Regions from separate parts of the Homo sapiens genome. Here all the other regions are linked to region 2. Evidence: promoter capture Hi-C in 16 types of primary human blood cells and fetal thymus (Javierre and others, 2016). All regions are on one chromosome and are shown on one strand. The core of a region is centred on a gene start or on the middle of the fragment in contact, and the rest is flanking DNA. Distances in the headings are between cores, read along the strand shown. Region 1 overlaps CCDC192 (coiled-coil domain containing 192). Region 2 holds the start of SLC12A2 (solute carrier family 12 member 2). Region 3 overlaps CCDC192 (coiled-coil domain containing 192). Region 4 has its middle 48 kb from the start of CTXN3.

Region 1 (7,169 bases), core at 2,195-4,694, 320 kb before region 2:
GAACAGTCCTCTGTCCCCTATTTTAAAATTTAAGTCAACATTAAAAACATATGGATGAGAGGATAGGGAAAGGGGAGAAACTGATATTTCCTAAGAATGTTCTTGAGAATATTTCAGAATAGAACACCTGTCACAAACAATCAAACATTTGTCCACTGGGTGCCACTGTCTTCCTTACCAGGCCATGCCACTAAGGGATTGCAGTAAGACTGTCTTTAGTGTTAAAGACAAGGATTACACACACACACACACACACACACACACACACTCTCTCTCTCTCTCTCTCTCAATCTGTGTGTATGTGTGTGTGTGTGTGTGTGTTTGAAGGAATATTTTTGCCTGCTGTACACGTTAAGGCTTTTTCTAAATGTCATTAATTTAGGATTTGTCACAAGGATGTTGGGAATGCTAGCTTGCCTTTACTGGTAACCCAAATTATGGGCTAGCCGGGTGAAGTAGAATGAGGTGGGGAGTGTGGAAGACACGACAAGAACCAAGATTTGTGCTGGAATGAAGCAGTGGAAGCTTGCAATATTATCAAACAATGGATCCTGCCTTTGAGAAAAGGGTTAATCTCACTGTTATTCAAGACCTTATCTGTTAGCTTTGCCTCTGAGAACACAGATTTAACTCAGAATGGAAAGTATAGGTGCCTAGTGTTGTTACCTGCATTAATCATCTGTTGGTCCTGGGCCTAAATTTGTGCAAACTGGGCATTTCTAAGGTCTCCTTCAGCAAGGTCCACTGTTACAAAGAAAAAAATTAGAAATAGCCAACAAATAAGAAGGTTGTGGCCACTTCCTCCGATGAGGTCACACAGTCAACAGAATTCTTTGTTGGGCTTCACTTTAGCTTACAATTATTCTTTATTTCTCTGCAGCCAAGTCACTAATGTCAAAATAAAAGAAATAATGGGATCAGGATAACTTGCAATTAAGACTTATAATCTGGGTTAGTCAAGGCTTTGAGAAATAACTGCACCAATTCAGCCAAAGTAGAGTGAGAAAGTGTCATTTGGCTCCAACTTCTAACCTAGGTTATAATGATAAACCACTCAACATATTACCAAGTTTTGCTTAAGAAAATACTTTATTGTATTTCCCATAGGTTAAGATCAGGTGGGAGGAAAACTAAATGCCTGGATGTTGGGTAATAGATAAAAAAAAGGGTGAATAAAAGGGAGAAAAGCTGTTAGGAATGTGAAAGAAAGATGAAAAGTAAAAGCATTTCTAGAGAAGCCCATAAAAAATAGTTTTTTCATGTGTGCTGGCTTCTATCACCAGTGAATATAAGAGGACAAGGAAAGGGACTCTGGTGGACTGCTGTTTATGACCATACACAAGCAAATAGACCATACAGCTTTTGTGCTGAGACAAAAGATAGTGTCAAGAAAACCCATACTTTTGCAATGAAGTCTGGATCCAGATGCATGCCAACATAGAGCTTATGAGGTAACATTCCTTTTGGCAGCAGTGTTAGCCCAGAGTCTCTCCCATTTATCAATGGCTTCTGGTTCCCAGCTCCAGGTATCAGATCAGGGAGAGCCCAGGCTTTGTTCCTGCTCCACTATCTGCTAGCTTTATGGCCTTGGGCAATTCACTTTGTCTCCCCAGCTACAGTTGTCTTATCTAGGAGGGTGTAAACATGCTAGTTACATAGGGCTGTTGTGAGGCTGTTATTAAATGGGATAGGTATCTGTCCCTCTGTCCCTTTGTGGTTATTATGGCTGAATGTTTCTGTCCCCCTGCCAAAAAGAAAAAAACCATATATTGAAACCTAATCCACAATATGATAGTATGTGGTGGTGGGATCTTTGGTGGATGATAAGTTCTTGAGGGCACTGCCTCAGGAATGGGACTAGTGTCCTTATAAAAGAGACTCAAGGGATCTCCCTCACCCCTTCCACCATGTGAGGACAGAGCAAGAAGCTGCCATCTGTGAACCAGGAAGCAGACCCTCATAAGACACCAGATCTGTTGGTGCCTTGATCTTGGACTGCTCAGCCTCTAGAATTTGAAGAAAGAAAGAAATTCCCATTGTTTATATGCTAGCCAGTTTATGGTATTTTGTTATAGCAGCCCAAATGAACTAAGACAGTAGGTTCTCAAAAACATCTGTTTATTTTCACTCCTACCAGTGGTCATAGCAGAACTGTGTAGTTCTCTTTATGCCTTCAGCCACATAAATTAACGAGTTCCAACCTACCACAAAAGTCTTTCTTTCTCACACACACACACTGCCCCGCTCGCTACCCAAGCTCCCTTGTCATAACTTGGCTGGCTTTTCTACTATCCAGTTTTCTCTTCTACTCTTTCTCATCTCTTCATCTGGTAAAGGGATTTTAGTTCTTTAACCTTGTCTTTCCTTTCTGCTTCATCTCTTGGAGCTTCTGTCTGTTTCTGTCCATTATCTGATTTTGTACAGACTGGGAGCTGTTTTCCTTGGCAAGCTGGGGCAGGGAGGGTGTCAGGAGGTGAATCCAGTAAGGACTATGTAGTAAGAATTCATTTCATATATCTTCTGGGTACCATACCTAGCAAAATATAGTTACATATGAGAAAACTTTTTAAAGTTCATGGAAAAATGGAATTAAACAATAAAAATAAAAATTATAAATTTTATTTTTCAACATAAGCTTCATCAATTTCAAGACACTTTTGAAGTGATGATACCAGCCCTTTAGTCCACCTTAAAGAACTGAGGGTCCTGGGGATTTAACCATTTTAATACAGTGGTTTTTTTTTTTTACATCATTAACTAAAGAAAACTGAGTGCTCTTTAAAGGTTTTTTAAGACTGGGAAACAAAAATAAGGCAGAAGCAGCCAAATCAGTACTGTAAGGAAGATGCCTAATGATTTCCCATGGAAACTCTTGCAAAGTTGCCCTTTTTGATGAGAGGTCTGGGTTAGCATCTGGTACTGAAGCGAGATGAGGTAAGTTTCAAAACTTTACATTTATAACAAGTTCCCATCTCGCTTTAGTACCAGATGCTAACCCAGATCTTCAGGCTGAGGTTCTTTTTCACCCTTGTCCTGTGTTCTCCAACTGCATGGCTAACACGGTGCAACCCCATCTCTACTAAAAAATACAAAAAATTCGCCGGGCATGGTGGCAGGCTGAGATCGCGCCACTGCACTCCAGCCTGGGTGACAGAGCGAGATTCTGTCTCAAAAAAAAAAAAAAAAAAAAAAAGGAAAGTTTTAGGAAGATTGAAAAATAATAATGCTCCAAGAGCCCCGTGTTATAGTTTGCAGAGATAATCTCAGCAAGACAGAAAACCAAGTCTTAAGTTAGCAGAAGATGGCAAGAGCTGAACTCTAAGATACCCCTCCTTGTTGGAGTCGTATGATGAGACTCCTGGAATGTAAGAGGTGGGGATAAATTACCCGTAATTTGTATTTGAAGAAAGAAAATATTATGTGTATGTTGTCAGAATGAACAAGAAAGTTAAAGGAAATTCAAGAGGAGGCAAAAACGCAAAAGAAACACTCCGTTCTGAAAAAGACTTGTATCTATTCTGACTGGCTCCCCAACATCCTGCTCCCCTTCAAGCCCATTCTGGCTTATTGCAAGAACCTAATTTGGGGCATTTGTGGCTTTGCACGCTGTTCAAAGTCAAGATCAAGCCAGGTTTAGTTTCTTTGCTGTTTTTTCTGTTTGTTTGTTTTTGTTGGTCAGCACTCATTTGTTCATTTAACAATTGTTTATTGAGGATTCACTATATGCCAGGTACTATATCTAGAAGTGGGAACACAGCAGTAAACAAGATTGATAAGACCCCTGACTCATGGAGCTGACATTCTACTGGAGGACACAGATAGCAAACAAATAAACATTGAAAATACATGGAGCTTCAGATGGTGTTAAATACTTTGCTGGGCCACACTAAAGGGTATCTGTGGGACTACGCTTAAACTTAAATCCCACTGGGAAGTCTGGTTCCTGAGAATAACCTTGTGGGCCCTTGTCCTTGAGAAGCTGGTGACTGTAGCTCTATGTGCATGTGTATGTTGGAGTGTGTGTATGTTGGAGTGTGTGTGTTATTCCTGTTGTTTTTGATATGAAACAATAAAACCTAAGGCCAAATTATTGCTCTAGGTTAGATCAAGGTTCTTGGGGCTCAGGTTTTCTCTTCAAGATGGCATTTTCAAAGAAACGGGAGGATTTTAATAGTTTACTTTCTCTTGAGAGTTTTAACTATTTTGCTAATATTTACCCTAAATTCTTCAGGTATATTTATGTGTATTGTTATAAAGCTTGGACTAGAAACAAACAACGCCCCACCAAAAAAACTAATAAGTTATGTTTGACTCTAATCAGCAAGAAATTATGAATCATTTTATGCCTAAGGCCCTAACAAAACTCCCATTATTTCTCTCTTAGTACATCTTAGTGTCCAGTCTATCTTTTCTTTATGTTTAGGAATAGAAGGAACAAAGATACCAGCAAATTTTTGATACTGAATTTGTGTATTGAGTGGCTAAAAGTAATCTGATGCATACTGAGATTATCCAAAAAATGCTCTGTTTTTTTTTCATTGTTTATATGCAACAGTGGATCTTTTGATGTCAAGTTTATTTGAAATAAACAATGTGCCCTTGGTAGGAGTATTCATTTCTGCAAATGCTCAGAAATTATGCTTGACATGCCAATCTGAAATCATGAGTTTTGTGAATGAGTTTTTGTTTTCAGAACTATTTTGAAGTGTACTTTAATGCCATAAAATCACAAGCAGTCTGTTTGACCCAAAATGAGTTCCTTATCAACATGAAGCCCAGTTATCAGGAACTTCATTAAACAATTTGGCTAGCCAGAGTTCTGATTGATTTTACAGCAGACAAGTTCCCTCCTTATTAAAAAACAAAACAAAATCCAACAACTTCTCATTTAAGCAGATGTTCATCTTCATCTTGTTACTGGGTTGTTGGCATAAATTGGTAGCCTCAGAGAATGCAAGGAAAAAAATAGAAGCTGGTGAAGAGATGGTGTTGTTTTGAATAGAGTCAAACACAATGACAAATCGGCTTCTGTAGTATATTGTTGTTGCAGGCGGGATGTGTGGATTGTTGGCCTGTTACATAACTAAAAACTTCCTTTTGCTTGTAAATGTCAAGATCAAACAGAGGTCAGTTTTAAATAGCTGACCGGTGCTAATAAATGTGACTTTCTTGTCTTGGAAAAAGCAAAAAGCCTCATGCCTTAAGAGTCATGGCTCTGCTGTTAGGAGGAGGTGTCTTTGTGTATGGGCTTAACCTGTATTTTGTTCATGAGATTTTCTTTGAGATGGTAAATGAACTTTCCCTTTGCTTATTGTCTACAAATAAATTAGTAAGTTAGGTATATGCTTTTGTTCAATTATTCATTCAATAAATATTAATCGAGTTTATACTATGAGCTAGGCATTCTGTTTGGTACTTCTGTGAATTTTAGCTATGTATTTCTCCAAACAGTCCTGGAAAATTGTATATGCCATTTTGCAAATGATGAAAGCTCTTTTGTGGGTTTGCAGCCCTCTTGTCTGCTCCTTCTATAGACTCTCCTTGGTGATCTGACTTTAGCATACACAATCTGCTGAAAAGCCTTAAGTCCTCACTACTAGTCCAGGTCTTCCCTGACTTCAGACCTAATTATGTATACTGAACAGCTCCACCAAGGTTCTCACAGACAACTCAAGCTCTCCATCTCCATCTCCAAAATTCAACTTACCTGCTTCTTGCCCCAAACCTGTTCCTTCTCCCACATTCCCTAGGCCAGTGATCAGTGCCACCAGCCACACTGTGCTGCTTTGATTCTTTCCTTTTCCTCATGCCTCATATGCAATCAATTGCTGAGTACTACAGGTGATGACTCCCAAATCACTCTTGAATCCATCTTTTTTTCTCTATCTCCACTATCACCATTTTTGTCCAGGCTACCTTCTGCAGTGCCTCTCCTGACTTTACCTTCATTATGGCCCTTGTTTAATGACTCCTCAACACTACACCAGAATGAAGGTTCTATAACAAAGATCTCATATTTCTCAACTTTAAATCTTAAATTAGCCTGATTTCACTGTCAGGGTCAAATCTGTCCTCTAACAGATCTTACAATGCCATTTATGATCCGACCACCTGCTTGTTTCTCCAGCTTTACCTTACACCACTCCCTGTATACCACTATTACACCACTTTCAGTTCTTTAAAGGTATCATATCCTCTCTCACCTTTCTAATCTAGAAAAAACAAAGGCCTCATTTCTTAGAGTCAAATTATCATTAATACACCCCTTTCCCTCTGCTTCTGCCTAGAATTTCTCTGCTAACTTTCTCTACTTCCTCTTATCGCCTTACTCATTATCCAAAGAACCCCAAGAGACTTCTTTTCAGATCCTCAGTTAGATGCCATTCCCTCCAAAATGCACTTCTTCTTCCTTCAAGTTTGGGTTAGATGTCCTTAGGTGCTTTCATAATCTCTCTCCCACCTCCCGCCGATAATAATTGCTTGTCTGTGTCTCCCACTATACCATATAACACATGGAAGAAGCTCAGACAGTAACTCCTCTGAGGTCCTAAGCCAAATTAGAATTCATTACTTGTCCCTTTTCTGTCAAAGCCCATGTTTTTTCCATTATACATTTGGAGTTGACCCCTACACAAGGAGGGCCATTGAAGGAGGCACATTCTGATCTGTGCTCAAGAGAGAAAACAGTGAGGGACTGAGAAGGACAGATTTGAGAGACCAAAGCCAGGCATATCAATGTGTAGGCTCTTATAAAAATCCAGTTTGGAAATGATAAAGGCCTAAATTATTGGTGGAGAGAAGACAGAGACAAGATATATTTATGAGTTGGATTTGGTGATTAATTAAATGTAGAAGTTGAAGGGAAAGTAGGATTCAAGACAGATCCCAAGTTTCAGGTGACTACGTAACCTGTGGTTACCCAACTATCTTATGTTAGAATCATTAGATGTTAAAAATGATTCATTTCTTATGGACAACTCCATGCAGGCTCAATTTACCACTTACGCTATAGATTCTTCATCCAAGTTTTGGATGATTTTAATCTCCTTTTTTAGATCTTCTGAATCTTGCAATCCTTGGATATTATGTCAGATCCTTTAACTCTGGGGTGTCTAATCTTTTGGCTTCTCTTGGCCACATTAGAAGAAGAAGAATTGTCTTGGGGCACT
Region 2 (6,507 bases), core at 608-3,107:
AGTTCAAGTAAGATCATGTTTATGACAATTTTTTGAAAATTGCCTGGTTGCAGCTTTTACTTACAGCATTTTCAAACAGTTCTGCCAACTCTGTGGCTCTTTCATCATGTTTCAAGTGTTCAGCAAACGATGGTGTTCGTCTCCATAAAGTCAAAGTTTAAAAATACAAGGGCCGGGCGCGGTGGCTCATGCCTGTAATCCCAGCACTTGGAGAGGCGGAGGTGGGCGGATCACGAGGTCAGGAGATCGAGACCATCCTGGCTAACACGGTGAAACCCCGACTCTACTAAAAATACAAAAAATTAGCAGGGCGTGATGGCGGGCGCCTGTAGTCCCAACTACTCAGGAGGCTGAGGCAGGAGGAGAATGGCGTGAACCCAGGAGGCGGAGTTTGCAGTGAGCCAAGATCGCACCCCTGCACTACAGCTTGGGCGACAGAGCGAGACTCCGTCTCAAAAAAAAAAAAAAAAAGTACATAAATAAAAACCAAGTAATTGGAGGACGCCATTCATTGATTTTACTTAGGACTTTGGGCATAATCTATAGGTTTAAAAATTTCTGCTGCTAAGAAAGTGGGAACACAGTTATATTCCCTTACATTTTACCGAAGAGAAACTAGACCTGCAGAGGAGTACCTTTCTGTTTCTATATAAGCAGAGGAATTCTGCACAACCCAAATCACGCAGAAACCTCCTGGTAAGGACTCCACGGGTAGTTATTGCCGGCATTGTATTCTGAGAGATGAGCTGCATATCACTTTTGGAAATGCCTTAAATTAAAACTCGTCTTGAAACAACATGACGTCTCAAAGAAGCTCCCTTCTCACCTTGGAACATCAGCTTTTAAAATAAAGGTGTCATCAGAAGTGTGTAGACACCCACTGCATCACAACTGGAACTGATCTCTGGTTATGCCAATCTAGGTCTGCCTGGCAGGGTGAGTCTACCGCTCGAAAGCTGCACAGAGGAAATCCTCCCTCCTCCAGGTTCAGGCCCGGAGTTACGAGCGGAGATTCGCGGCGGCGGGTCAGAGCCCAGAGCAAACCAGGCTGGGGAACGCACCTCGCCCGCGGCTCCGGAAGCGGCTGCGGCCCCGACCGGAAAGCCCCCAGCATCGCCCGAAGGAATCGCGGCTGGCCTGCGGCTCCGGCCCGGCCTCGGGTACCACGCGCCTAGTGGGAAGCCGCACTGACGCCTGCAGCATCTCGCGAGATTTCGGGCTCAGCCCAAGTACTGCGAGTTCACCAAAGCGGGGGGAAAAAAAAAAAGCCAGCGTGCGAGAGCCTCTGAAGCCGTGGCTGGGGCGCTGGGGTGGCAGCTGCCGCGGGAGCATCAGCTACCGGCGTGAGGCGAGGCAGGGCACGCGCGCCGTCCGCAGCCCCGTTGCCTGGGCTGCAGGTCCACTGACGCGCGGCCCCTGGGTGGAGAGAGGGGAGGTGGCCTGGGAGCCCGCTCCTTTTCGCCGCAGAGCGCGGCGGGGGAGGGAGGTGAAGGCGTGGGAGGAAGGCGGCGGAAGAGGAGGTAGCCGCGCGGAGATCCTCCCGGCGACATCACTGAGGCGGAGCGTAGCCGCGCCTGCTCCCCGATCGCGCCGTTCGTGCTGCCCGCACTGCCCGAGGCCCTTTGCGGACTGGCTGGCCGCGCTCTTCGCACGGGGCGCTTTTGCGTGGGGTCGCGCAGGAGCCGCGGAGGGCCGGATCGCTGAGGGAGCGTCAGCCGCGCGCCGCTGCGGGACCGCGGGTGGGCGGGCTGAGGGGCGGAGGAGCCTCCGGCCCCGCCTCCCGCGTGCTGCTGCCGGAGCCGCCGCCGCCGCAGCCCCGCCGAGGCTTTAAACAGCGGGGCCCGCCCCGCGCCCGCCACACTCGCGCGCTCGCTCGGCTGCCGGTGGCCTCTGTGGCCGTCCAGGCTAGCGGCGGCCCGCAGGCGGCGGGGAGAAAGACTCTCTCACCTGGTCTTGCGGCTGTGGCCACCGCCGGCCAGGGGTGTGGAGGGCGTGCTGCCGGAGACGTCCGCCGGGCTCTGCAGTTCCGCCGGGGGTCGGGCAGCTATGGAGCCGCGGCCCACGGCGCCCTCCTCCGGCGCCCCGGGACTGGCCGGGGTCGGGGAGACGCCGTCAGCCGCTGCGCTGGCCGCAGCCAGGGTGGAACTGCCCGGCACGGCTGTGCCCTCGGTGCCGGAGGATGCTGCGCCCGCGAGCCGGGACGGCGGCGGGGTCCGCGATGAGGGCCCCGCGGCGGCCGGGGACGGGCTGGGCAGACCCTTGGGGCCCACCCCGAGCCAGAGCCGTTTCCAGGTGGACCTGGTTTCCGAGAACGCCGGGCGGGCCGCTGCTGCGGCGGCGGCGGCGGCGGCGGCAGCGGCGGCGGCTGGTGCTGGGGCGGGGGCCAAGCAGACCCCCGCGGACGGGGAAGCCAGCGGCGAGAGCGAGCCGGCTAAAGGCAGCGAGGAAGCCAAGGGCCGCTTCCGCGTGAACTTCGTGGACCCAGCTGCCTCCTCGTCGGCTGAAGACAGCCTGTCAGATGCTGCCGGGGTCGGAGTCGACGGGCCCAACGTGAGCTTCCAGAACGGCGGGGACACGGTGCTGAGCGAGGGCAGCAGCCTGCACTCCGGCGGCGGCGGCGGCAGTGGGCACCACCAGCACTACTATTATGATACCCACACCAACACCTACTACCTGCGCACCTTCGGCCACAACACCATGGACGCTGTGCCCAGGATCGATCACTACCGGCACACAGCCGCGCAGCTGGGCGAGAAGCTGCTCCGGCCTAGCCTGGCGGAGCTCCACGACGAGCTGGAAAAGGTGAGCTCGCCCAGCCCTCCCTTCTTCCCCAGCCCCTGGTGCATGCCGACCGCGGGATGTGGCTGCAGACTCTTCCCGAGTTGAGGTGGCGGGAGTAGTAGACGTGCACGACTTGCTGGCATCTCTGGATTCAGCTGTCAAGGGTGGAATTGCCGAGGAATGTTAACTTAATCTCTCAAAAGTTTGTAGCGGGTTTGGCTAGTTACGTGATACCGGAGGGCTGCCTCTAACAACCTTCCCCATCCAGTTAGGTATCTCGTGTGCACTTTCTTTCCCACCCACGCTCAACAGTCACCATCCCTCTGAATGACAGTAGTGTTTGTGGGCCCTTTAGAGGAGAATGTGCAGTGAGGATCTCTCGAGAGAGGTTGGAGAGCACCTACCATCTGTGTCGTTTTGAAAGATTGTGTTGTGTGGCTTATGTACGCCTATTAGGGATCGCAAGAGTGGGAATGTTGCTGTTTGAAGGAAAACCTTAACAGGGTGTGTTTATGGTCTATGAGTTATTAAAGCTCAATTCTTGCAATCTTGAATATACAAAGGATCATAGAGATCTTGTCTTGGGACACGCTGTTCCTAATAATGGCATAACTCTTTTTTTTTGCGATGAAAACGTTTTGGGAGAGGTGTATATTTAAAAAAAAAGGGACAGAGGCGAGTCTTTAAAGAAAAAAGGGAAACAGGAGAATTGGTTTTTCTGTAGAGGATGACCAGAAAGACCTGTGGGGTCTTTGCCATAAGCAGTTACACTTTGTAAACAGAAAACCATCCCCATAAACTCATTGATTTTTGTAACTATTTTTTATGGTCACATAAGACTTATTTCTTCAGCGTTCAATGTCACTGTTTTGAGATAACATTGATGCTTTTGAGATTTCGTTAATGTTTAACTTTTTTATGAGCCGGGATTACTTGAAGTCTTCCTTTACAAGTGTGTAATGACTACATTGATGGAATTTGTGAACGCAAGAGGATGGTACCACATAGGTTGAAATGATCACAGTTTGGACAAGTTTAAATCCAGTATGTGATTTCTTTTGGATATGATTATTTGATCTCATACAGTGATTTCATACAAGATTGTACTTGTCCCAGTGTTTGATAATGTAACATTCACACAGAGGTAATTACAGAGCTCTTACAGCTTATTGATTGTTTAAAAGCCTGAGATCATTTAGCTTTAGATAATACTATTCTTGTTATTCCATTGTGGTATTTTGTCATAATCAGAAGCAAAACAATGTCTAAAACATTTTTTATTCATACTCCTGTAGTTTCTATCAAGTCTATTCTTTTTTCTTTTCAAAACTCAAAAATCATTGTAGACAAAAGTAGATATGGAGCTGGCAATTTTCATTATCTTAGGACAGTTTTACTAATGAAAATATTATACAGATATATTTTAGATTTATTTTACCAAAGCCAAGTATGTGAGCAGTAAAGTGATCTGTATTTACCCATAAGTTTTAGAAAGACATCCAATTGAAAGGTATATATGTTGAGCTTATATGCTTCCTAGGGAAGTTTTTGCTACTTTAAATTAAATTATCTCAATAACAAAGCACTTCAAGTTCTCCAAAACTTTAGATTTGTGTGTTTGTGTTTTTTGCTTGGCTTTTTGGTTCAAAGTATCTAAAAAACAACACCTGTACTGTTAGTTGTATGGTAGTTGAAGAAATCACCCAACCTCTTAGCTTCAGCTTTTCAGGGTTATCATGAAGATTAGAAAAAAAGCGCAATAAAAATGACCATGTTCAGTGCCTGGAAAATAATACCTAGTTGTTATTTCCCTCTTATATTGGCCCTTCAGAAGACTCTAGGATCTCAATTTTAGATTCTGTTAATTCTTACGTTATTAGGTGAATGTAGTATATAAATATTATGTTCAGTTTCATTTATGCAACAGGTACTTTAATTCTTTGTAGTTTACCTTCTGCCACTCATAATCTTTATGGCCACTGTTTTATTGGCTTAACTAATAACTACATGTTGAAGATAATTTTGCTTAGAATTTTAGCAGATGGATTAAAGAAATGGGTGTTAAGTAGTACAAATATGACTATACATCACTGTCGAAAGAGGGGCAGACAGGAGGGGTTATAACAGGTTGGCTGGATCCCCAGAAGTTGTCCCTTACTCTGTCTAAATTGACTTCTACCTCTCTAACACCTTCTGTAATGTTTCTAGCCTTCAGTGAATTATAATATTTAGAATTTTTATAACACCTAATTCTAGCAGTCGATTGATTGGCATATACTCTACTTTGGTCTACTAAGTGCATAATTATCTACCATGGGACTAACTCTGTGTTGGGAACTACAGAAGAAGAAAAGAAGTAAAATACTTCAGAAACTTGTTAGGGAAAAGGACTGGATTGTCTTCCCTCCAGTTGAATTCCTTTCATTATCCATCACTGACTTTTTAAAAGTATTTTGTCTAGATGTCCAACTGTAGGGGAAAAGATAAATATCCTTGGTGCATCTTGCTATATTATATAGCCATTCTAGGACCAGTAGGCATGAGTTCTCCATTTATGAGTTATTGGGGAAGGGGGTATCTTAGATGTTGACAACATGCTTGTGACATTGTGGGATTATGTGGTGATTAGCAAACCAGTTACTGCTTCTGCCTAGACAGACATTAACAAAGTAGTTGGACAAATAACATAGTTAATAACTGTTTTTTAAGTGTTACGAAAGAAAAGGATACTTGTAAAGATAGAATAGGACCTAATTTTAATTGGGTTTTGGGAAGGCGTTTTTTTGAGAAGTATGACATTGAAGCTGAGACCTGAAGGGTAAGTTGATGATTGGGTGGAATGACAGTCCTGACCAAAGGGACAGCGCACATGAAGGTAATGGGGTGAGAAAGAGTGGTATATTAACATAACTAAAAGGAGATAACTATTTTTCATTATAAATGTAGTGGGACGCTATTGAAGAATTTTGTGTGGGGTAGCCACATGACCCATTTTGTTTTAACATCTTTAGGCTCTGGGTGGAGAATGGATTGGCAGGGGCAAGAATGGAAGCAAAGAGACTCAAGTGATTACTGTGGTCTGGTTGAGAGATAGTAAAGGTTGGTGGCACAAAGGATTGGATGTGGGAGTGAGAAAGAAGCTGACTTGTAGATTTTGAACTTGAGAAACTTAATAGATGTTGGTACTGTTGCTTGAGATGAGAAATACTGGAGGAGGAATAGATTTGGTGGTTGGGAGAAGTTTGTATTTGAGGCTATTCTGTTTCAGTAGCCTATAAAGACAAAGACAACTTATTCCAAGAGTCGTGGAGGAGGCTCTGTGTGTGTGTGTGTGTGTGTGTGTGTGTGTGTCTGTATATAAACATATGTAAATATATATATTTACATATAAAGATTTGGTTGCTTAAGGTCATGGACTAAATTACTTAGGGAGAGTGGTAGATAAGAGAACAGAAAATAGGGTCTGGCATTGGACTTGGAGATTGTTTAAAGGTCTGTTAGAGATTGAGGAGCCATTAGCAAAGGAAATTAAGGAAGAGCTGCCATACTGTCAAATAGCCTGGAGAGCAGTGTTGGGGGAAGCTGAGAGAAAAGAGTTTTTGGAAAGGCAGAAACTCTTCAAAGCTGATGCTAGGAATTGATTTAAAAATGTATATACGTACACACACAGAGTGAAAAATCAAAGTATGGATTTTTGGCCCTACAAGAAGAAATAAAAGGTGGAGG
Region 3 (7,165 bases), core at 561-3,060, 280 kb before region 2:
AATTTTTAAAAGGAGCTTTTAAAATATCACTGTACTTACATACTCTTATAAAGAAAATATCTTTAGCTTTCAGTCTCTGAAGGAACAAAATCAAAACTGCTTGAACAAGTATCCCGGCTGGAGGAAAAACTGGAGGCTGTGGACCACAAGGAAGCCAGTGGGGGACCATATGAAAAAATGGTTCTTGTGAAAGACCAGGTATGTTGTAGAACAAAGTCATCTTTATTTTAAAAGTTACCTAATTTTATATGAATTGACAATCCTGGAAAGCCATTTCAGTCTGGATTAAAAGTCGTATTTTTAAGTTCATAATGGTAAATAACAATATTTGTATTTGCTAAAAGTAATTTTATTCCCTGGCAAATATTGAGATAAAATTTATTTTGCTAGTAGTAGTTTTAAAGTTTGTTTGATATGTAACCCTTTGAATAACATTAGCTGAATATTCTATTTATTTTATAAATGGTATTGACTGTACAAATGTCTCTTAGTTGTTAATGTTGGAGTGTTTCTTTCTGTGGAGTAAAACGAGAGGCTCATAACATTTGGCATATGTTTTTTAATCAATTACTTTATAAGAAATGATTAATCTCTGAATATCTGAGCATTAAAATATATATCATTATGTAAATTTACCTCTTGTTCAATCCAAAGGGTTTGCTTTTGGAATATATGGATATGATTTCATGTGAAGGTATATATATATATATATATATATATATATATATATATATATATATATTTATTTATTTATTTATTTGTAAATATATATATATTTATATGATATAGGGGCATTTGCATTAACCGTAGCACATCAAGCTAACATTATCTTACTCAGGCATATCCTAGTTCTTAATATATTTGTGTGTTTTTTCTTTGGGTTCTTTCATAGAATGGAAGAGAAATAGGAATGGGGGGATGATTTCTCCAATGATGGTTTTCAAAACGTAGCTGAAATAATGCTGCCATTCACGAGATTTGAAAACTGATACACATTTATGTCTGTAATACGTTGAGTATGTAAAAGAAAGAGTTACATACTTAGTTTCTAAACTTTTCTCCTTTTCAGTGCATCCAGAAATTGCAAGCTGAAGTAAAAGCTTCCCAGGAGCAACTTATAGCCCAGGTAAGTGTTTTCCTCCTTTTTTCATCCCTTTATTTATGTCATTGTTAGCTTGGAAATGAACAGAACATGGAAAGAAGTTATAAATGAGTTTCGTCTGGAGCAAACCAAATCACAAGGCTAAAAATGAGTATTTTTACTGCGTCTACACAGTTTCTTTTCATACATAAAATTCTGATTTTTGTGGATGACCAAAATTCCAAACTGAGCTCTTATATATAATCAGATGGTCTAATCAGGTGCTATCAGAAGAAGAGAACTGGAAACTTAGGACAGAAAGATGAAGAAGCCAGTCTAGTTGGGTGAGTAGGTGGAAGTGGAGAGATGTGGTAATTATTGACCCATCAGATAAAGGTCTAGAGCAGTTCTTCTTAAACTTTACTGTATGTAAGAATCACCTGATAGCTTCTTAAAACAAATTACTCAGATTCTGTTTCCTGCATGCCTAGGTTGGGGCCTGGGAATTTGCACTTTTTGGTGATTCTAGACTCAGACAATGCTGATGCTGCCAGTCTTCAGGACACACGTTAAGTGACATTATTTTTTATACATTTTTTATACATACATATATATATTACATATATTTAATATATATTATTAACATTAATATTGATTTTAGGCAAGTGACCATATAAACCAATCAGACTACATAGTTGCCCATTTTCTCCTGCAAGTACTCGCCTGAGAGAGACCCCATGAATTTCTATGGCAAATTTCATTTGCACACTAGCCTATGTTTACTCTGAGAACAACACATAAGCATCTCCTGCCACAATACCCTGTGTGTCCATGACCATAAATCTGTCACCCTGCCACTATTCCTTCCCAAGGATCTGAACAACCCAAATGCCTTAGACATCTCCTCAAAGACTTGATTGCCATCCTTTTGGTCATCTTTTTCATCCACATCTTGGCTGCTATGGAATGACTTCTTGATTAAAGATACTGACCAGTCATGTTAATGGCCAATCTTAACTACACCAGGCCCCTCAGACAGACCTGAGACCTATGAGGTTGCCCTCCAAAAGACTGCAAGATAATACATTCTGGTGACCATTCCTTTGGGGTTTGGAATGAACTGACTTGGGTAAAATATTGGTAATTGTCCCCATTTTTGTGCTAGAGAAGAGAAAAGCTAATCTGCTGTGGCAGTTAGCAGAGCTTTTAACTCTAAATTCAGAATCTTTTTTGGGCTTGTATGTTCAATTGTCCAATATTGAAAATGACTAAGGCTTGCATTTGTAGCATTGTGACATATTTAGACAGAAATATGTCTCATTAGCCAGTATTTTGTTGCAGATGCCTTTCCCCTGGTCTCCCCCTGAGGGTGCCAGATAATGACTATTGTCAGAGGATGTCCCGTCACGACATTTGATACCCACAGTCATTCACATGGAAGAAGCTTTTAGCTCAGAATTTTATATGGAGGGCAAATGTATTCACTAAAGCTCAGATATTAGCTTCCAGCATCTCTTTGTGAAAAACAGATGAAAAAAGCCATAGTTCCTGGTGCCTTAGGGAAATTCCTATAGTGTCTTCTTTCACTGCCTAGTTACTATGGATGCTATTCCTGTACCATGCTGTTACTGCTTGAGACTTGTCTGAACTAGAATTGCTTCCCTGTATTAGGGTATTGATACCAGTGACTGAGATTTCTCATATGTAATTGTCCAACATTCAGGTTTCAATACAACAGTGTATTCATGAAAGTTTTGCTTCAATGTGTCAAGAAAAACTTAAATGAAAACAGTATTAACGATAGTATTTATTGAAAGTGGATTATGTATTTTCTATGTGGAAGATATTTCACATATCTATTTTAAATCTCAACACAACCCAGCAAGGTAGTCATTAATTTTCAGAAAGAAAATGGAATCTTAAAAAGATTAGATCACTCGTCACACTCTGAAACCCATGATTTTGCTATTACAACTTGCTGTCTCTCCAAATTATATTCTCTATGTGCCATTTGAGGTATCAAATGGTGTTTATAAAGGTTCTATCTCCAACCTCCTTTTCTCTTTCTGTTCACTTTTGGTGATTCAGCAGTTCATAATGCTTCAACTCTCACTCCCATGCAGACAAACTGCCTTCTCCCACAGCAAGTTCCTTCTATCTTAAGCCTCCCCTGATTAGAGATCTGTAGTGTTTTAATGAGCACTTCTTAGAACATTGTCCCTGAAAAAAACATTCCATAGGATGCTAAGAGGTATTCTGAAAAAAAAAAAAAAAAAAAAAAAAACAACAACAACAAAAAGTAGGAAGACTGTTGGAAACAAAGTTAAATGGGTTTATTTCCTGCAAGAGTTATCCATGTACAAACAATCTCCAAGAACAGGCTGTTGTTGGTCATTTTTCCAAAAGAGTTTGATTATGAATGGTGATTTGTAACACACAGGTTTAGAGATGGCTGGTACACGGCATCAAACTGAAGTACTCTGGTTCTTAAATATGACCTGAATATCTTGCTGACACCTCAGGCTAAGAATATACAAAGCCAAATTTATCATCTTCTGTTATTATCTCTTAAATATGTTTCTCTATTCGTATCCCCCAGCCATGGTGGATAATATCACACTACTGTTATTTTTTCTAGATTCAAACTACAAAGCAGTTTTAAAATCCTACCTCTCTCTGCCTCTGTCCTACTTTGGTTAGTTGTCAGGCCCTGAATATGTTTCTACAAGTTATCTCACTTCCATGTCTTCTATTCCATTATACTGCCACTTCTCTAGCTCTTTTTAATCGTCTTATATTTTAATTATTGTAACTGGCCCCAAATTGTTAACATATGTGAGTGAATTCAGAGCCCCCCACAACCCCACTCCCCGTTACAAGGTAGCCCACTTGCTCTGGCACCATCAAGCCCTATTGAGAGAAGAGAGAGGATAAAAATCTGTGTGTAAAGATTTGGAATGGGTGCAGAAAACCAAACAGAGCAAAAGTGTAACACTCACAGGGTGAGTGTGATCTGCTGGCGTGGCAGAGAAGAGAAAGGGGATTTAAAAACCAGGGTGGTAGGAATGGAACACTGAAGATGGGGTGAGGGTTCTTCTGGAATAAGAGATGAGAGTTCTGAGGATGCTGAAGATTAGGAAATAACTTGAAGTATTAATAAGAGTTGCCTGGCAAAATATGTACTTGAACCCCTTTAAGTGAGAGTCCCATGGAAAGTTTGGAATTTCTGTTTGGAGTGTGCCTCCTTAATGTAACACCTGTGGGACCTGACCTCTATAAGAGTCTCCTGGTTTCCGTGCCTCCATCCTGAGTGAAGTTTCCAAAGCATAGTCCCTGCCCCTCATCTTCTCTTCTCCCTCACTCCCCTCTCTCTGCCTTACACTGAGCCTACTACTAGAATGGAGCTGCTATCTTTCTTTACATATCCAGTATTATTTGATGTTCTGTGATTTTGCTCACAGTATTCTCTTAAACTGGAATATCCTTCTCTCTTCTCTTCATTCAAATAACTCTTTTCTGTCCTTGCAAGACTCAAGTTATGTACCAACTTCTCCCTTAGTCCCCAGATTATTTTCTGTGGGTCCCCACAGCCTCCTTTAGATACATCTATTTGAGCTGTTAAAGTAAACATTGTAGACAAATTAAATTTAACAGAGTTCATGTGAGCAAAGAATGATTCCTGAATTGGGTAGAAATCAGAACCAGAAGAGGTTGAGAAAGCTCCATCCAGCAGCATGAGTAGCAAGCTTTTATAGGCAAAACACAGAAGCAAAGTAAAGACATTATCTGTTGGCTACCTAAGTTAGGTGTTTGCCTTATTTGGGTGTGGTTGGATCAGTTGGGTGCCTGTGATTGGCTGAAGCTCAGCTGTTTGTGACTGGCTGAAACCCAACTATTTGTTACAAAAAATATACTCCTAAGTTAGGTTTCAGTTTGTTAAGTAGGAACTCAAAATAGGGAGAGAACCTCAGGCCAATGGCCTCCTGCTTATTTAACAGAGCTCAATACACTACACTTTGTTGACATTATCTGTTTATATATCCGTTACCCACTAGACTCTAGGGACATTGAAGGCAGCACTAAGAATGTGTCTCTGAATGCACTACACCCAGTACAGGGCTGGGTGCATTGTAGCTACTCAATACATTTTGCTGAATTGCATTGAATTTTATTCTGATCATGTCATTTCCTTAGTTCCAAAGCCTTGAGTGAGACATTGCTTGTCCATTATCCCAGAATAAAGTCTAACCTCCTGACCATGGCATTTATCATGTTGACAATGGGGACCTGACCCCCTTTCCTGCCTCATCTCCATCTCCATCTGCGACCCCCAAGTGCACCCTGCATCTCTGCCCTAGCAGCTTTGCTTGTAGCTCCTTGCTACCCTGAATGCCTGTCCCTGCCATTGAGTTTGCCAGACTTTCCCCATTCTTTATCAAGATTGTTTTTTCCACGAAGTTCTCCCTATCAGTCCAGAAGTAATCTCTCCTTCTTTGGTGCGTTCACAGCACTTCTCTGTGCCTCTTTTCAGTCATTTGTCACACTATGCCCCACAAGAGAATGATCTGATGCAGCCTCTTTCTCAAGACTGCAAGTTCCTGGAGGAAGTATGTCTGTTTATCTTTATTCCTCCCACAGTGTCTGGCTCGATGTCTTGTACAGATTTTATTGAAATGAATTGTTAAAGTGGCTAAATTAAAAATAAAATTATTTTGGCATTTGTAGGAGCACCCTTTATATATCAGGGAAAATCACTTTATGACAAAGAATTGTATTCTGTGAAGATGTCAATATTACATCAGGCATTAATTTAATGAGGCTGACTCTTTCAAATATAACATGCAAGTGACAAAAGGTAAGGATCTCTTAGAGTGGAAACAGAAGGAAAAAAATAGCAGAGAAAGAAAACACAGTTGCTGGAAATTCCTATTTCACGTGAAATAAAAAGAGTTTCTAAAGGAAACATGGTCTTAACATGAAAATTAACAACGTAATGTCTTGGCTTGCTTTTATTCAGAGTTCACTGCTCTAGAACTCAATAGTTGAATAATATGATTGTTTAATTAAATTGATAGCTATGAAATGGAGAGGAGATGAAAGCCTTAACATTTCAGAGTTATCATTTGCTAATACTTTGAAGATTAAATTCTCACCCCATTAAATTTACTGTGCCTAGTCACAACTTAGACTTCTAAAGAAATTATTAAGGGTTACCCCTCCCAGTGCACATGTGGGCACCCAGGCTGAGCCATCACCGGGCTAAGCTGCCCTGGGCATCTTTATCACTCCCTCCCATGATTACTTATCCGCTTAAAGACCTACATGGGATAAAACAAATATTTGAAATGAATGTTTATAATTACTTAAAGATATCTGTTCTTGTTAGGGCGATTTGAGTCAGGACTAGGTATCTTAATAAAAAATTCCTTTTAAAATTAATGCCTTCCAAATTATGGAATCCATATGTTGCCTGTGTTTAGTATTAGCGGGTATAAGTGCTTAGCCCCATCTGTTCACTCCTTCGTGGATGACCTGAATATCTGCAGTACTCCAGATGTCTGCCTCCCCTCTTTACCTCCATCCCAACGGCCATCCCATCTCTCAGTTTCCAGCCACCCACAAGACCTGACCAGGACCAAAAGCTCTATAATATTCAATGGGTTTATTTCAAAATGGAAATCTGGGTAATTGGGTGGTAGGCACTCAAGTGTGATGTTATTCTCTATACTGTCCTGTATGTTTGATACATTTCATAATAAACTAAACAGTTAAAAACATCCAGATGAAGGAATCCTTCAAATGAATCGTACAGCATGCTTAAAAGTGTAGGACAGATGAGTGAATTTTGGAAACCAGAAGATCCTGAACCACTGAGGCCTGGAAGCTCAGGGTGAGGAACTCAGGGCATGGGAGGCACCCAGGACGGGGGTCTCCCAAAATGCTGGTTTAACTTCCTTTCCTCCTACAAAGAAGCTATAAACTGCCATTTTACTTTCTAAATTAAGAATCTGTAAGAGCGGACTGCTCCCTCCTAGAATTCCAGGCCCTCTGCTAATTGACTTGTTCTTACCATAACAGAGGACA
Region 4 (6,923 bases), core at 560-3,059, 480 kb before region 2:
AGTTTGTGTGTAGGGTGGGGAGCTATGTCTCTAGAGAGCTGTATGGCTGAGAGCAATCTTAGATGAACAAAATACCAATGCTTCTCTCCCCTGAGCGGGGAGCAACTCCTGTCAGGTTAGCACTGGTGGACTGCTGTGGTCTGCTCAGCAGGGAGGGCTACCTTAACACAGCAGCGATAACAGCCACTACCACTGACGAGCATAAACTACTTGACTGATCATGGAAGATGTCTCACTTTCTCTCCTGAAAGGGCTGCCTATCAAAATGACCCCTTTGACTAAGTAAATACCTCTGGGTCTTAGAACTTCTTTTGGGAAGGAAGGCCCCAGGAATGGAAGAAACACTTTCCTCCATGGGTGTACTGATACCTTCATTTAATTTGAATATTTTAAAAAATGGTACCTTATTTTGCTTCCCAAGTTGGTAAAGAAGGACAGAACAATTCCATATTACACTGTGCAGATTACTGAGACGCCAGTAAATGTATGTTCCTATTCACTTTCCAATTATCTTTAGTGCTGTCTTTAGTGTCTCGATAGGACTTTGAAAATTTTGAGAAATCAGTAGTTCCTGCTGGTAGCTGTGGTCATGTGAAGATATGGAAGAGCTTGCAAACACAGGATAAACAAGTGAGAGAAAAAAAGTTTGAAGCTTGTCTTCATGAATTAATTATAAAGTGCCTGAAGTAGAAGATAGGACTTGGTTTGAAAAATAAGAATGTCCTGTGGTTTAAATCACTGAGCTGTCTCCATACACCATCAGCCTCTAGCAATGATCTCTGAACCCTGTCTTTCTTTTCAGTCCTTGTGAAATAATGAATCCTTCTGGAAGATGACTGGTGGATAAAATAAGAAATAAAACATTCACTTCCAGGAAAAATGGAACTAGGCACTGTCAACTCTCATGAGCTTTGTTCTAAAAGTTTTCTTCTTAAATAATTACAACAGATATCTTCTTAAATTCTGCCACATATCCAAGACCAAGATTTAGAAATAGGTTGCAGTCTTGCTTTAAGTGTTTGATTGCTGATGCAGATCCATTTAAAAAATGGCTTTATTTTTAACATATTCTCTTTTGAAACATCAAATAGTCAGGCCTTCCCAAGGCCAAAATAGGTTTTGGTCAGGCAAATTAGATCATGTCCAGCAGTAAGAATAAGCAAAAAAAAAAAAAAATGCTGTAAAGACTGTTAAGGAAACCATCTTAGTCTACAGATGCTAATCAGTTGGTTGGAAGCTTTGTTCATAGCATCAATGTATCTTTCAATATTATTGCTGCTTACTGGAAAGCCAGAGACTTACAGAATCTCTTAGCCTGACTTTATGATTTTTTTCTATTGGCAGTTAACTTTGGATCGTGGCTGTCTTAGTTCCAGTTATCTGGAAACTGCCTTTGAAATGGAGATTTGTGTGTGGGAGGTTATTGAGGCCCACCCTCAAGAATAACACCAGTAAGGGAGCAAGTGAAGCAAGACTGAGTAGACGAAGAAGTCGTGTGTGACATGGTTGCAGTTGAGGTTTGAGCTTATCCCACAAGGAGGTCAGGAGCTGTGATGACCTTTCTGTTTTGCCTGGAGTAAGGCAAGCAGGATGGGTCTTTGCCTCCTCTATTAATCAGTCATTGGAAGAGGTCTCTCCTAAGGGAGGGTTGTACCTTGGCAAGGCAGCTCCTTTGGCTGAAGGCAATCCCTGGAAAGGGACACAGCTGTGAGCCCTTAACAGCCCACATTCCTCTCACCTGGCAAAATGAGTTCCATGGTTCTGACTGGAATGGAGAGAAGTGGAGGGGGCATTAAGGCAGTACACTAAAGATCTACAGCAAGTCCCCTTATTAAAGAGGCCCCTTAATTAAGGTAGACGGCGAAAGTTTGTTACTGTCATCTAATATTGTGTAACATCTCACCTTAAAACGTAGTGGCTTAAAACAACAAAAATAATTAACTGACCCACTGGTTTCTGTGGGTCAGAAATTCATAAATGGCTTGGCAAGAATCTTCTGTTTGTACTGCCTTGTGTGAGTGCAGTCAGCTGGTGGCTGAAGCATCTGGGGACTGGCCAGGCAGCTCTCTCTGCTCATGCAGTCTTGGGGCCTCTCCGTTTGGTCTCCTTGTGTGGCCTAGTTTGGTCTTTCTCACAGTATGGCAGCCTGGCACTTCTTACATGGAGGCTTAGGGCTCCACTGGTGAGGGTCCCAAGAGAGACTGGAAGAAACTACATGGCATTTTCTAATCTAGCTTCAGAAGTCATGTGGCATTACATCTTCCACGTTCTATTTGTGTCAGGGACCACCCAGTTTCAAGGGGAAGAGACAGATTCCACTTCTTGATGAGAAGTGACAAGATCTGTAAGAACATGGGCATTTTTGACAATATAAAGGCTATAAAGCTTATATTTTCTGATAGTAATAAATCCCATGAAAAAGAACTAAAAAACAATGGTATAACTAAAATCATTTGATTCTTTTTAGTTACACCGTTGTATATATGTGTACCCTATATATGTATATATGTGTACCATATATAATTATACCATGTATAATATACAGTGTACCATATACACACACATACAAATACACACACGCATACACACACACACAAACACACACACTCAATGCTTAAGTTCAGCTCAGACTATTTCATCAATTGTAAGAAACTAGACCTAGATACCAAACCCAGCATTACTAGCTTCTAATAAGTATGCTATATGAGGGTATAAGAGATACTAGATAAACAAAAGTTATTCCTGTTACAAAAGTCAGTTGAATGAATTCCACACTAGTGTTGGTTCATTCTCAGCCTATATTTTTCATATCATAATGCACAGTGCCCAATAGTAAATCCCTTTTTTGCAGCAGTACTGGGAAAGGATGCTTTGAACCTCAATTTTAGGCCACAGAAATACTACTGGCTTCCCAACTCTTACTTACCTGAAGAAATATGGTCACCACCTTGGGAATTTTGTACCTCAAGTTCAGTTTCAAAACTGGCAAAAAATTGTTAGCTCTGGATTCATTTGGTCAATGCTAATAGGTTTGTCTTTCTGAAGTTTATTCGATGGCTCCCAGGAGGAAAACACAACTACCTCTGTGTAACGAAATGTGGGAAACAAAAACCAGCCATGATGCCTCATGGATTTGCTCCACTTTTAGCATCCTTGTCATTCAGCCTAATCTCTCTCAATGCCATGCTAAGTGACCAACATTACCAAACTGGTAGATGAAACTATGAAGGCAAGCACACCATTAGCATTTGTTTGGAGGAAACAAGAAGATTAGTTTTAGGTTAGAAATCCATCAAATTATGCTTTCCAAAAAGGCTTTACAATATCTCTTGGTTTAAATAGGAAAGGCTGTTTAGTTTACGATATGTTGCTATGGAGTGTACAATATACAATTTAGATGATAATAAATGGGACTCCAAATGCTTTTATGATGCAGAACATTTTTTAGCAGTGTTTGGCAGTATAATCAATGTTGTTTTCACAACTTAAAAAAAAAAGCATTTGATGGAAACCTGCTGTTACAGAATGACATTGTAATGTGCTTTCATCAAAAGTGAACATCTTTAAAAATAACTTTTAAAAGAAGTGATTAAAACCTCAAAGATGTAAAGTTATCTTAAAGTAAATGATGAATATCTGTATATTTTAAACTATGTGCCAAGTTTGGAGATATTAAAAGCATTTTCATTGTTGAACAAATATTGCATATTTTAATCTCTAAAGAGAAGCTTTTCAACTCTTTATCTCATTGAGGCTAGAGGAACTAGTCGGAAGATAGGTTTGCATATTTATTTGAGCACCTTCAGAACTATTCTCAGTTCAGCCTCCATATGACCACAAGTTTGGGGCTCTCTGACTAGAGTTGCATTGTTTCTCACAATGCTTAAAACACAATAACGGGTAAGTCTTGGGAACCTTTTAAATCACTGAATATTATCAGCCGTGCTAATATGCGTTTTAGATACTCCCCCAGTACCTTTAAAGCCAAGATTAGGAGGGAAAATGGAAAGGGACAAAATGAAGGAGTAAGAAAGAAAGAAAGAGGAGAGAAAGGGATCTCTACCAGTGATGTCCAGTGATACCCAGTTCCATTATAAACTCACACCCAACTGATCCCAGCATCCCTGGTTATCACCAAAGCGTAAATCCCTCCAAGCGCTGTTCTTCCTCCATCCGTTGCTTGGCTCATGGCTCTTCTGGGGGGTCTTATAAGAACACATGATATCTATGGAAAACTTCTAAACCTGTATACCTAAATCTCTAGACCCAACCTTTTCCCTGAAGTTCAGAACCCCGTAGCTGAAAGTTTGCTGGACATCTCCAGTAATGAATGCCACACAGGCAACTCAAATTCAACCCATCCAGCAATAAATTATCCCTGCTGCCCACCTCATCTTGTCCCTGACATGTTATCTTCAGGATTCCTTGTCTCAACAAATTGCAATACTATTGACTTTGTCATGGTAACTAGAAATCTGGGAATCATCCTAAAGAATTCCATCTTACCCTACCCCCATCTAATCACCAAGTCCTAATGTTGCCTTTTCTTGAACATTTCTCAAGTCTGTCCTCACTGCCATTGCTGCAGCTCACATCCGCGACATCTCATACGTGGACTCTGACAACAGCCTCTCCTTGAGCTTCCTGCATCCACTCTTGCTCTGCAATCACTACTGAAGGCCACCAGGGTGCTCATCTGGAGTAACACTTGAGCCTATCCCTGCTCCCCCAAACCTTCATGACTTTCACTCCTTAGAGCTGTGCTGACCCTAAAGGAACCATTAGCCCCATGTGGTTACTGGGCACTTGAAATGTGGCTAGCTGAATTGAGATGTAGTGTAAGTGTCTATACAATATATATCACATTTTGAGAATTACATGTTGAAATGATTTTTTTGATGTATTGGGTTAAATAAGATGTGTTCTTACTATTAATTTCACCTACTGCTCAATGTAGCTGCTCAAAAATTTAAAATGAACTATATGCCTTGCATGATCTATCATCAGTGCTAAAGTAGAGCCTCAGCTCCACAGGCTGTGTGGGCACCCCTGTGTCCCAGGGGTAAAGGTCCCCATGATCCCCAGGCTCAGGAAGAACTAAAAGTCTCTATACATACGTGTCAAATTGATACCAATTGGGAAGTGGCTTAAGAACTCTGTGTGTGTGTGTGCGTGTGTGTGTGTGTGTGTGTTTGTGTGTGTGTGTATGTCTATATCCGTGCCTGGAGCGTGTGAATTTAAGCTTGGTCATTATCACACAGATCATTATGAGACTGGTTGGCACGACACTCGTATGCATTTCTATTTTTAATCCTGAAGAAAAAAAAAAAACCCTCAAGGAGCTCGAGTGATGAAGTTAGGGCCATGGGCTGCCAGCTCAGACAACCCAGATCTCTGTCCTCCCAGCTCCACCTTATTTCTGGAGGTACCTCTTCCCAGTTAGCAGCAATCTGAGACCAACACTTCCCCTTTTTTATCTGGGGGAGAATTCCTAAGGATTCCTGGGAAATGACCTTGAGTGGTCTCTCAAAAAAAGAAGGCAGGTGGTTCTAGTCGTTTTTCAACTCCCATCCTTTGTTCTCCTCTGACTCTCTGAAATTTGTCACTTTTGTCACTTTCCTTTTCAGACAGTGACAGTTCCCTAAAGATTTTTCACTCCACATCCTCTCTTGACCTTTCCCTGAGAGGTTGTTTCTCATTTTACTGCCAGCTTGCTGTGTGGCCCTTTTTTATTTGCAAGTTTTTAGGGTGAGCACTTTCTTGTGTGAACTCTTTGTACCTCAGGCTGTATTTTACTCTGGGGCTCAGTCTCACTTGTAAAAGGGTAACTTACAGCCAAGATAAGATGAAGTAATAACATCCTAGCTTTTCCTGCAAGCTCTTGAATTCTAGGATTCAAATTTTCCCATTTCAAGTCTTATGCAAATTTGACTTTTCAGGAGCTCTCTTTATGTTTTGTAAGCACTTTCACTGAACCTGAAGAAATATACCTGCTTCATAGATTATTGCAGAAAGTCAAACTGCACAGAATTTGACTTTTACTTTCCTTCTTAATAGTTTTTTGTTGTTGTTGTTACATGAAAGTACAATGTTAATAGAGGATCAAAAGGATCCTCTATTTTATCCTTCCTAGCTTGAAGGATTACTGACATGAGTGGATGAGATTCTAAGAAGGGGTCCTTTATTTACTAATAAGTTCTAAAATAAGAAAAAAAAGAAACTTTGGAGAATAAATTTTGTTTGACTGCACAGATTTGTTCTTGAAGTTTTAATGATGGAGAAAATATTTTACCAAGTTTCAATTTAAAATAAAATAACTAAATTACCTTATTGCTGAAATAAGATTGATTTGAACTTCAATTAAGTCACCTGATCTAGTCCAAACTAAATGGTAAAACATATATCCAATGTGAAAAATTACCTGGTAATAAAATAGTGGTAAAAATAGGAAAAGAGATAAGCAAAATAAATCCATCTCTCTCTTATTTTTTTCTGTTTTAGAAACTTCTGCACAAACCAAAGTAAGTGAAAATGAGTATGAGGAGTTCTGGAAATTAAGATAGCATTCATAGAAGCCTGATTTATTTAGAAAGCTTCCGTATTTTACATATGTTTTAGTTGTTTTAGTAAGCATACTATCTGTATTTATTTAGCTAGTTATACATTCTGATTCTTACCTCTTTAACAGTGTGTTCTGAGGTGTTATGTCAAAGAATTTTTCCATCATAGAATTTTTCATGTTACTTGGGAGAGTAAGGCAATTTGTTGACCCCCATTTTTCACTATTAAGTGCTCAGGCTAAGGCCAGTTTTAGGTTGGATGAGGAAGAGACCCTGAGGCTATTCTAAGAATCGAACACACTCGCCTCAAAGTAAAAGTGAGACAAAGGGCTTCATCCTTTATTTTCCTCTTTTAAAAAGAGT

Evidence for each region. Contacts are between HindIII fragments. The CHiCAGO score rates a contact against its expected background, and 5 or more counts as called.
Region 1: a contact is called between a fragment that was not itself captured here and the fragment with the promoter of SLC12A2 in region 2, in 4 of 17 cell types (M2 macrophages, endothelial precursors, M0 macrophages and 1 more). The highest score is 7.8, in M2 macrophages.
Region 3: a contact is called between a fragment that was not itself captured here and the fragment with the promoter of SLC12A2 in region 2, in 1 of 17 cell types (endothelial precursors). The highest score is 5.6, in endothelial precursors.
Region 4: a fragment that was not itself captured here is called in contact with the fragment with the promoter of SLC12A2 in region 2 in 1 of 17 cell types (fetal thymus); the score reaches 5.9 in fetal thymus.

What each region holds. Positions count from the first base shown.
Region 1 is chr5:127,757,532-127,764,700 of GRCh38, forward strand. The region is part of intron 3 of CCDC192 (coiled-coil domain containing 192); the gene reads left to right. Among named protein-coding and RNA genes, the nearest start is that of CCDC192, 58 kb to the left of the region's middle. The HindIII fragment of the contact is 1,622 bases long and covers 2,634-4,255 here.
Region 2 is chr5:128,081,909-128,088,415 of GRCh38, forward strand. It overlaps SLC12A2 (solute carrier family 12 member 2), which reads left to right and starts at 1,858. Exons shown (of 27, transcript NM_001046.3): 1 at 1,858-2,802. The coding sequence starts at 2,047. It overlaps SLC12A2-DT (SLC12A2 divergent transcript), which reads right to left and starts at 1,267. Exons shown (of 4, transcript NR_152813.1): 1 at 1,062-1,267. RefSeq lists a silencer at 1,522-2,351 and an enhancer at 2,842-3,011. The HindIII fragment of the contact is 20,683 bases long and covers 1-6,507 here.
Region 3 is chr5:127,797,037-127,804,201 of GRCh38, forward strand. CCDC192 (coiled-coil domain containing 192) reads left to right here. Exons shown (of 7, transcript NM_001317938.2): 4 at 67-198; 5 at 1,070-1,126. Among named protein-coding and RNA genes, the nearest start is that of CCDC192, 97 kb to the left of the region's middle. The HindIII fragment of the contact is 1,425 bases long and covers 1,099-2,523 here.
Region 4 is chr5:127,597,991-127,604,913 of GRCh38, forward strand. No RefSeq gene overlaps it. Among named protein-coding and RNA genes, the nearest start is that of CTXN3, 48 kb to the right of the region's middle. The HindIII fragment of the contact is 1,148 bases long and covers 1,236-2,383 here.